3 separate regions of the Homo sapiens genome follow, and regions 1 and 2 are each linked to region 3. The links are contacts of gene promoters, found by promoter capture Hi-C in blood cells and fetal thymus (Javierre and others, 2016). All regions are on one chromosome and are shown on one strand. The core of a region is centred on a gene start or on the middle of the fragment in contact, and the rest is flanking DNA. Distances in the headings are between cores, read along the strand shown.

Evidence for each region. Contacts are between HindIII fragments. The CHiCAGO score rates a contact against its expected background, and 5 or more counts as called.
Region 1: a contact is called between a fragment that was not itself captured here and the fragment with the promoter of ANP32B in region 3, in 1 of 17 cell types (erythroblasts). The highest score is 7.5, in erythroblasts.
Region 2: a fragment that was not itself captured here is called in contact with the fragment with the promoter of ANP32B in region 3 in 1 of 17 cell types (non-activated CD4 T cells); the score reaches 7.2 in non-activated CD4 T cells.

The regions. Positions count from the first base shown.
Region 1 is chr9:97,659,672-97,663,357 of GRCh38, reverse strand. NCBP1 (nuclear cap binding protein subunit 1) reads right to left here. Exons shown (of 23, transcript NM_002486.5): 16 at 2,290-2,412; 17 at 1,214-1,316; 18 at 311-404. It also overlaps a transcript of XPA not described here. Among named protein-coding and RNA genes, the nearest start is that of NCBP1, 28 kb to the right of the region's middle. The HindIII fragment of the contact is 946 bases long and covers 1,636-2,581 here.
Region 2 is chr9:98,277,068-98,280,558 of GRCh38, reverse strand. No RefSeq gene overlaps it. Among named protein-coding and RNA genes, the nearest start is that of TBC1D2, 23 kb to the right of the region's middle. RefSeq lists an enhancer at 135-820. The HindIII fragment of the contact is 5,565 bases long and covers 1-3,491 here.
Region 3 is chr9:97,981,678-97,984,920 of GRCh38, reverse strand. It overlaps ANP32B (acidic nuclear phosphoprotein 32 family member B), which reads right to left and starts at 1,580. Exons shown (of 7, transcript NM_006401.3): 1 at 1,312-1,580. The coding sequence starts at 1,365. All of the region lies in intron 2 of LOC124902226 (a long non-coding RNA gene), which reads left to right. RefSeq lists silencers at 251-480, 511-560, 571-770, 841-920, 1,111-1,200 and 2 more and an enhancer at 828-1,710. The HindIII fragment of the contact is 9,132 bases long and covers 1-1,984 here.

The DNA.
Region 1 (3,686 bases), core at 859-3,358, 320 kb after region 3:
CACAATATATATCAAGGTTTGAGAAATCTGGAGCTTGCATTTAGAAACTGGATAGACTAGATAAACCTTTTCCTGAACATTTAAAACATATTGAGATATTATAGTTCAAAACCAAATCATAATAATGCTTACTCTTTCAAGAATGAATGAAACATCATTACTCCCATAGCACTGAAAGAATTAGATCTAAAAACCATTATCTAGGCAGAGTCAAATTTCATGTTTTACAAACAAAACAATGGCAATTAACGGCCTTATTTTTATACCCATACAATCAGAGCTTCAACATGTCTAATTAAATAATTTTTACCTGTGGATGGTTCCTCCAGACCTCAAACATAACTCTTAGCACATGTAACTTTCCTTCATCACTTTCAGCTAGGGTTTTGAAGACTTCATGAAACCTTTTGATAATGATGGGAAAAAAATACCATATATACTTATTCATTAAACATTTTAGTGTTTTCAAAGCCTTTTCAATGTTACTCAATTTATAATGCAATATATAAATGCAAAATAACTAAGTATTAACCATTAAGGATGCAAAAAGTGTGATCACAGATTGATAGTTTTTAAGGAAGCTGTCACAAAATCTCAAGACATTTACAATATACTACCGTTAGCCCAGGGCTACAGTTTAAAAGAATAGGTAAGGACTAAGGAACTGTCTTCAAACATGGTGAAATATTCAAACTGCATCTTCTGTGGGAACCCTGCAAGTAATATAAAGCCTTGGAGACAGAGATGGGGTGAGATGTCCAGTTTCTCTGCTTGGCAGAAGGAAAATCTATGTGCTCTTTCTTCCTTTGGACCCTGTCTGACAAGTTAAAAATACCTGTCTTCAGATGCCAACCTTTGCGTGACTCCCAACAGTGTAGCTGATTCTAATTTCTTCTTACATTGCTTTGGAAAGATATTTAGCGTGGGAACTTCCAACTGCATATGACTGTCCCAAAAACCTAGGTTTTTCACTAGTTTCTTTAAATGTCTATATGAAAAAAAGCACTTACCATGTACATATGCCAACTGTACAAACAGACTGACGGAAGCCTTAGGATATGGATTTCAGCTACCACAAACCCAAACCCACTGTGTCCAATTATACACTATTAAGATCTTCATATTCAACAATCTTAGGTAAAAATTACCATACCACTGGTGTTCACCAAGCAAAATTCCAAACTCTCAAGCAAGGCTCTGTACTCATACATACTTTGCAAGAGCACTGAAGGAGTGGCTGAATGATTTGGCTGCCAAGTGTAGCAGAGTCTGTACAAAGACTTCTATTTTCAATGGGTTAAAACTGAATCCTTCATCTGAAAAATATTTTATAGTAAAACAGAAAAATGTAAGCACAGCAATTCCTTGGTGCCTTACCTCAAATGCTAAATAGATGGTTGCTCACATCTATACACAGATATTTGTGTAATGTTTTTTGGTTCTAATAAACAATAAAAGACCGTCACTGATTTCAAACACTGAAAATATGAAACCACTTGTAATTTTAAGTCTTAGTTTTATGTGACTGTCTTAATTCTATCATCCATTCCTTGAAAAAAAAAAATCACACAGGTTTCCTTATTCATAGCCTCTATTATATTAATACCAAAAAAAAAAAAAAAAAACACTTAAGCTTATGTCTTAAGATGTCTGACAACATCTGAATTTAATGCCATCATTTTGGCTTATTCTTTCTAAACTCATTTTCTCTAATATCATAATACAAATTTCTTAGAGATATCCAAACAAAATCCCAGTAATAAATACCCAAAGGCCACTAATATCTTATTTTGATTCAGTAGTTTTTCTATGTGCATATCCATTTATTGATTCAGGCAACTGTATAAATTATTTTGTCAATTTTCCCACTCTTGCCCAGAAAAACTCCTAGGATTCTGGTTGGAATTACATGGTATATAACTGAGTAAATGTTAAACATTATTATTCTAATAGCTTAACTTGGAGAAAACATCCAACTTTATAACACACCAAGTCTTTCTATTCAGGAACTTCTCTATGGTGAAAGCAGGGGTTAAAAATCCTTGAATGGTAACATATTTCACTTTGTATTTACGATGAAGTTTATATTCTTAAGTAAGCTATATCACAGAAATGTTAGGATCTCTTTTTATATAAGGGGAAAATACCTGGGGTGCTAAGAACAACAGTCTGAACAGGTCAAACAGATATAGATATATTGCTTTAAGAGCATCATGTTGCCAGAGTTATGTTTATGCTTTAAGTTGGCCTATACATAGTTCCACTTAAGAAATACTGAATTCCACTTACCGTCGTCATCATCCTGGTTAGGATTTGGTACATCTTTCAGAATGCTGAAGATTTCATCATTGGTTGCCTTACTTTTAAAGGCAACAGCTAAACAGAGGGCAACAGAATGTCCAGGAAGAGAATCTAAACACAGAATTGGGGGTAAGGGGAATGACAGATCAGGTTTCAAGACTATTCTAATGAACAGTTAAATAACTGAGAAAAATTTTTTTTAAATTCTTCCTTTCAAAATAGGATGCTCTTTATCCCAAGGTCAATATTTAATCACATATAAATACCGTATGTGAAAGCTTTTTCTAATAGGTTAATGGTTTTTCACCTAAAAAGGGACAATTCTCATTTCAACAATTCATTAAGGACACTTAGCTAAGTAAAATTTAGAGCACAAGGTGCTGATCATCCTCAAGATGAATGGTAAGGAGAAAAGTGGACACAGTTAAACTGTCTTTTAATGCCCTCAACTCTCCTGGGCTCAAAATCCCAGAACCAACGTACTTCTCTTTCATTTTGCCAACACCCACTTCCTCTTTCTTTCCTCGGGACCGTGGAAATGAAGTCTGAGTCTCAACAAGGTAATGGCTGCCAACTTCAGAGAGGTTTTGTTTTTGTACTTTTCTTTTTTGCTGAGTCCACAAGCTTGAATCTACGTAAGTCAGATGCTCACGTGATGGGACTCCTTGTATTTACTATTGGTTGGTATCAGTTGAGTCCTTATTATAAAAATTTGTGCTAATATACACCGTAAGGCATCACCAGAGCAACAAGAAATCTGCTTTTAATGTAAGGTAGACAAAGAGGTAACAAAAAAGGCAATCCTGTTATAGAGTATGAGTTACTGGAATGAATAAAGTAAATTACAACAGTCATGTGAGGACAGTCATATTACACCTGCTGTGAGCTTTTTCTCTAAAAAAAAGAAGGCGAAGAAAAACAGAATCCCCTGTCACCAGTCTACATTCTAGCTGGGGAACCAAGATATTCACATTAGACACAGCCAGGAAGCAATACAAAACTGGCTTGCTAACGGTTAAAAAATATTTACAGCTATTGAGCTTGGGCTAGAATCTAGAAGGAGAAAAGGAAGTGGAGCTAGAAAGGGCTTTCCAGACTGGGGTAATGGCAAAGTCAAGAACAGGGAGTATGGAAAAAATAAAAAAGTACATGGACCTGGCAGAAATAGAGGTCCATGTGGGGAGAAGTGAAAAATAACAAAGTAGGAACAATGGTTATGAAGGCCTTGAATGTTAGGCGGAGTTATTCCTATGGGGCAAAAAGAAAGCTTAATCTTCAACAAAAGCCTGAGCTTTCTGATAGCAAAGACTACACCTTATCATTCTCGGAACCAGTACAGGACAAAACTCAAAACCCAGCACTTCTAAGTACTGCATAAACCTTTG
Region 2 (3,491 bases), core at 890-3,389, 300 kb before region 3:
GATATGCTTTTTTTAAAGATTATCTTGAAATAAAAATCCCTCTTGTTTTCAGTTTATAGAAGATTTGCAGACCCCCAAGATTCACCAAGGGCATCATCTGAGGCTCTAGGCCCCAGTCTGAGAGCCTCTGGCCCAGGCAATGTGACCATGAGCAAGCCAGTGGCTCAGAGCAACGCTGGGAGATACACTCCAGGCCCCTGGGCTCCTCAGGTTGACTCATAAACCAGCCCCTGGGAGATTCTGGGCCTCAGGGACACCTGGTTTTGAGGGCAAGGGAGCCTGGGGGAGCAGGGGCAGCTCCATGTTGAGCAACAGTGACAGTGGCAATGATGATGGCAGTACCAGAGCTCCTGGGCGGCTATGACAACAGACACCTGCCATGGCTGTGGTGGCCACAGCTCTGAAGGCACCAGCCCCTCGATGGGAGTGGAGGTGGAGGTGGGGAGTTGGTCAAAACTAACTGAAGAGGTAGGGCGACCTCCACATCAGGAAGGATGCCGATTCACTCAGGGCTAGAGGCTGGCAGCTCTGCCACAGCAGAGAAGAACCTATGCAGACACAAAATCCTATGCCCAAGTTGCCCATTGACTAGATGCCCCCATCCCAGATCTTCACCCTGGGCCACTCAACCAGGCCTCCAGGATCTAGCAGAAGGACTCTGCCAGCATCTCAGGGCAGGGGAGGCAAGATGGAAGGTGTTCACCCCATCTGCAAAGAAAAGCCAGTTCTGAGTTTTTTCTGTGAAATAAGAGATTACAGACAAACGACGAGAAAATGGACTGAGAAGAAAAAAGGGAAGAAAGTGGGGAGGGAAGAAAGGAGGAGGGAGGGAGGGAAAGTTTTGAGATTGGAGTAGTGTCAGAAACCTGCACATTCAACTCCTCTCTCTTTAATTCTTGCTACAATGGCCCAACCAATCAGAGCAAATCCATATCCTCTTCCATAAAGATTATTCTATCTAGATGGTCTCTGAAAATTAGAGAAAGTGTCCCACGCACATCTCTAAAAGCTCAAGTCATTTCCACCGCTCAGGTAAAGGGTGGAGGGAGGAGAAGCAGCTGCAGGCCACCATCTTCTCACTAAGCGTGGAGAAGACCACCTGGGGTTAATTCAAACTCAGTAGTGCAAAAGCCAAGTAGTCTTGGATTTGATTTTAGAGCTTCCATTCTGAGTTCAAAGGACCTTCAGATGTGGGCCGGTATCTCCATGCAGGAGCTGCTGGAAGTCATAATTTCACAGGACTTCTGCAGAACCAGCGCTCCAGCATCCACTTTCTCTCACAAGTCACCCCCACCACAGGGAAGAAGAGGAGGCAAGTGAGAGCAGAATTCATGAGCAGCAGCCATCTCTTCTCATCCCATGGGGGAGCCGGGAAGGCTTAAATAAGTTCCCCTCCCTCCATAAGATCGGGGGTAGCTTAAGTATTCCTCCAGACCCTTTCCCCTTCACCAAGTAAGGGACTGGCAATGCCTTTCATCTGAAAACTTCAGCGCCATTGAACTGCCCAATGCCCAGGCCAGTGTTGCTGGCAGGTCGAGAGAGGGCTGAGCGGAAGAGAGGAAGACTAGGGTAGCCAGTGGCATTCCCACAGGGTGGCTTGGCAAGGAGATGTGGGTTTTCCATGGGTTGTGTGGGCACTGAGGAAGGTTGGGAGAATTTCATCATCCTAAGAGGCTGAGGAAAAAAGTAGATGGATGAAGTTCAGTCAGAACTTGCTCACCAGAGGATTGTGTCAGAAGGACCCACTGGAAAGCCAGCACTCAGACACCTGCCTGGCAGAGGAACAGACAGCCAGATAGGAACAAAAGAAGTGATGCCAGCAGAAAGAAGACTGTAACCTCACGCAAGGAGTCACAGAAAGCAGTGTTCTGATACCTCTCCCCTCTCTTGCCTCCTTTCCCTGATATCTCAGAGAAAATAGAGAATGGGAGAGCAAACCTCATCACCTCCCTCCCTGCCCCAAGTCACAGAAACCTCAAGTGCCTGCCTGGGAAGAGTGCACTTTTTTTTTTTTTTTAAACATCCAGAGACTCTTTACTTTTTGTGGCTTTATTGAGATAGAATCCACATACCACACAATTCACCCTTGTAAAGGGTGCAATTCAGCCAGGCATGGTGGCTCACACCTATAATCCCAATGCTTTGGGAGGCCAAGACAGGAGGATCCCTTGAGCCCAGGAGTTTGAGACCAGCCTGGACAGCATAAGGGGACTCCATCTCTACACAAAATTTAAAAATTAGCCCGGCGTGGGGGATGCACGCCTGTAGTCCCAGCTACTCAGGAAGCTGAGGCAGGAGGATCACTTGAGCCCAGGAGTTTGAGGTTATAGTGAGCATGATTTTGCCACTACAACAGACTGAGATCCTAAAAAAATAAAATAAAATGAATTAAAGTATACAATTCAAATTTTTTAGTATATTCACAGATTCATACAATCATCTCCACAATCTAACTTTGGAACATTTTCATCACTCCAAGAAGAGTTAGCTGACAGTCCCTATTTCTCCCCAAGTTCCCCCAGCCTAAGCAACCACGAAATCTACTTTCTGTCTCTGTAAGTTTGGACATTTCACATAAATGGAACTTGCAATATGTGGTTCTTTGTGATGGGCTTCTTTTACTTAAGATAATGGGTTCAAAATTCATGTGTTATCAATATGAATGCAAGATAATGCATTCATATTGCAGCATGGATCAGGACTGCCTCAACTTTTATTGCCGAATATAGTCTATAGTATGTGTATACATTTTACTTTATGCAATTATTATCCATGTTATCAGTTAGCAAACATTTGAGTTGTTTCTACTTTTGGACTATTATGAATAATGATATTATGAACACTCAAGTTTTTGTGTGGACATAATGTCTTTGTTTTTCTTGGGGATATAACTAGGAGTGGAATTGCTGGGTTGTATGGTAACTCTAGTTTTAACTGTTTGAGGAACTGCCAGATTTTTCCACTGCAGCTACAACATTTTACATTCTCATCAGCATGTATGAGGGTTCCAATTTCTCCTTATGCTTACCAACATTTGTTATTATCTATTTTTAAAAAAAAATTCATAGCCATCCTGGTAGATGTGAAGTATCTCATTGTGGTTTTCGTTTGCATTTCCCTGATGGCTAAAGATATTGAGCATCTTTTCATGTACTTATTGGCCATTGACATATCTTCTTTGCAAAAATGTCTGTTCAGAGCCTTTGCCTTTTATTTATTTATTTCTGGAACGGGGCCTCACTTTGTCGCCCAGGCTGGAATGCAGTGGTGTGATAACAACGGCTCACTGCACCCTAGAATTCCTGGGGCTTAAAGGAATCCTCCCACTTCAAATTCCCGAGTAGCTAGGACTGCAAGCGCAAGCCACCACTCCCTAATTTTTTTAGTTTTGTAGAGACAGAGCCTCCCTATGTTGCCCAGCTAGTCTCCAATTCCTGGGTTCCAAGCAATCCTCCCACCTCAGCCTCCCAACGTGCTGGGATTATAGGCAT
Region 3 (3,243 bases), core at 331-2,830:
GCTCTCAAGCACGTGGGAGGCCAGAGGCCGCCCGGCCCACGAGCCGAGCCGAAGCCCGCCCAAAATCCCGCGCGCCCGGCGCGGGGCGGGGGCGGCCGCCTGCCGTTGCCCTTTTAAGAAGGGGGAGGGGGTCGGCAGCGCGCCCGCGACGGGATGAGTCGGCGGCGGCCGCGGCGCGCGGCTCCCGCCAGTGGGAGCCAAGCCCCGGCGGGGCGGGGGGAAACAGACCGAGGGCTCGGCGCGGGAAGAGGCGGCCGCCAGCCAGCGCCGAGGGCGGGCGGGCAAGGCCAAGCTCGTGGGCCGGCTCACCAGGCGCAGGGAGACGGGCACCCGCCAACATGGCGCTGCGGCGGCCTGTGGCGCGCCCCGGCTGGCGTGAAGAGCCGCCGCCCGCCCACACGGAGGGGCCAGCCTCCCGGGGCAAGGGCAGGGGCCCCGGGCGCCGCCGCCGCGGCACAGGGGGAAGGGCGAGGCCGTCGCCACAACGGTTGGCCTTGGTCGACCCGGGCTGCCCCTGGGAGGCAGGAGTGGGCAAGGCCGAGGGCGAAGAGGGAGCGAGAGAACGGGGGAGAAAGTTTTATTTTTGGGCTTGAAAAATGGCGGGAACCACGTCCTTTTTTCAAACTTGGCCTCGGGAGGGGCGGCGGTTGCGCCACCTCCGCCGCCCTGGCCCGCCCCTCCCCCGCTCCGCGCGCCGGGCCGCGCCCGCCCAGGCCTCCAGGCGCCCGAGGGGGCTTCTCGCTCCCTTCAAAAGAAAAAAGCCCCCTCCTCGCCCCACGACTGCTGACCTCGGCCGGGCCGGCGCCCACGGCGAGCTCCGGCCACAAGAGCCCCCGTCCCGCCCCACCCGCGCCCCTTCCCCGGCCGGCCCGGGGCGCGCGGAGCCCGGCCTGGCCCAGGCGGGGATGGCCGCGCAGCTCCTCGGCAGGCCGGGCCTCCGCCCGGCCGCGCATCCCGGGAGGCTGCAAACATGGCTCCCAGCGTTACACAACCCCCGCCTCCCTCTCTCGCCGCCGGCCACTTGCACACGCGCTCCCTCAGGGGAAAGACCCCGGCGGGCGAAGCGCTCAAAGTTTGCTTTCCCCCACACCGCTGCCTCCCCCCGGCCGCCCCAGGGGCCCGCGGGCGGCAAAGAGTTAATCCTCGCGCGCTCGCTCCCCCCTCCGCGCCCGCCCGCCTTCCCCGTCCGAGCCCACGAGCTGCGCTCTTCCCCGCGCCGGGGCCGGCGAACCCTCAGCCCGGGCCCCGCAGGTGGCCACCATTACATGCAAGTCATCGGGGGAGAGGGCACCCAGAGGGGTCTCTGCTTACAGCTGCCGGGGTCCGGTTCCTCAGCTCCAGGTGGATCCTCCTCTTCATGTCCATGTTCCCCTCTTCCCCCCTCTTCAAACTTAACTTTCCGCGGCGGGGGCGGAGGGGGGAGAGGCGTCCCGGCTTGCGCAGCGAGGGCCGTCGGAAGGGTTTGCTAGCGGCGGAGGCCGGCGGCGCGGTCCTGGGTGGCGGGCGGCGTGCGGGCAGGCGAGCGGAGCCCCCGGAGCCAAGTTACTCACGGGAGCGGAGAGAAACCATGGAGGGAAAAGGGGGCTGGAGCGCAGCGCTGGGCTCACTACCGCCGCCCCCGGCCGCGGCCTGCACTGCGCTTAAACCGGCGACGCGGCGCGGCAGCTGCTCGGCTCCACTCGGCCCCGCGCGGCGCTGCTCGGCTCGGCGGCCGCGGCTGCACCAAGGCGGGGCGGGGAGACTCGCGGCGGGCGGGGCGGAGGCTGGGGAAAGGCGCAGCCCGAATAGAGGAGCGACTTCCTCCCTCTCTCCGATTGCACGTGGGGCGGCTGATGTAAGACCTTTCTCGTGGGTGGGGGGGCTTCCCCGCCCCCCGGCCCCCGCCGCGCTGAGACTCCTTCTACCTCCGGCCCCACGTCGTCGCGCCCGGAGCTGGGCTTGCGGCCCGGGCTGGGAGGTTCGCGGGAAGGGTTGGTGGGAAGCTTTGCAGTCCGGCTGCGGGGGTCCCTAAAACCCAGTCCATCCGGGGAGGCTCACGGGGGCGGCCCGACGCCCGCGGAGGCGCGAGATGTGAAGAAGCCGGGGACAGGCTTTGACGTTCACCTTTTGCCTGCCACACAGTCTGGGGCCAACAGGCCGAACCCCGCTGCCTCCTTGGCAGACTGGCGTCCGTAGTGCCGCCGAGGATCCCCCCCGTCGGGACGGAATCGCGGCCGACCGGCCCTGGCAGGGCAGCTGGGGTCGCTTGCTAAGCCACAGAGCAGCCGAGCATCCCCACCCTGTTCAGGAGAGTCTCCCTCGGTTTTCTAACATTTTAATAGGAGCTAGAGAAGGAAACGATTAGCATTTCTAATAGGGCCTCAGGGTTTCCCCGCAGACTTTTTTTTTTAATCTCATTTATTCCTTAGGGCACCCCTGTGAAGTGTGTAAATTCTTGGTGGTCTAAGTTTCGCTGAAACCTGGCAGGCAGCCTTTGTCATGGTCTGGCCCAAAGGGTCCCAGGGGTTAGAGCACCAGATCGGGATGAGTGTTGTGCTTTGCAGAACACCGGGGAATGACGTTATATTCAGCGTACAATAAGTAAATACATAATGTGTCAAATCAAATACAATCTAAGAAGATCGTACTGACAAGAAGCACCAAAAACTAAGAACAATTTGTTAAAGAAAAACTTGAAATTCTATGTATTAACATGAAGTTTTATGGAAGTTAAGAAAGTGCCCCCTTTCCTATTTTACCTAAGTTTTAGTGGCAAACAACCCAAATTTAGTTGTAAACCAATTATATATCAGCTTTTAAAATACTGAGTGAGTTAACATTTGAAGATGAAAGTTTTAGAAGGAATATGGGAAAAGAAAAACTTTCTGGTAGTAGTTCCCTGACTCCGTTTGTAGTCTCAGCAGACGTCTTTATGACAAGGGAAAATGGAGACAGATGTTCTCAGGGTTACAAAAGGTCTGTAACTAAGGTTATGAGAACCACAGGGCTATGCAATGAGGGCTTTTACCAAACAAAACAAAACAAAACAAAAAATCGGTTTCATGAGCCAACAAGCGATTATTGAGGATCTGCTTTAAGGGGCTTGATATTATTTCTCTAATTCTCAGACAACTTTCTGAAGTAGGTGATAATTTAATCATTTTACAGATGAGGAGCTCAGGAATCTTAAGCTGCACGTCCAGCAAGAAGCAGAGCTAGGATTTACACCCAGATAGGTCTGACTCCACAGCCCACCATCTTGTG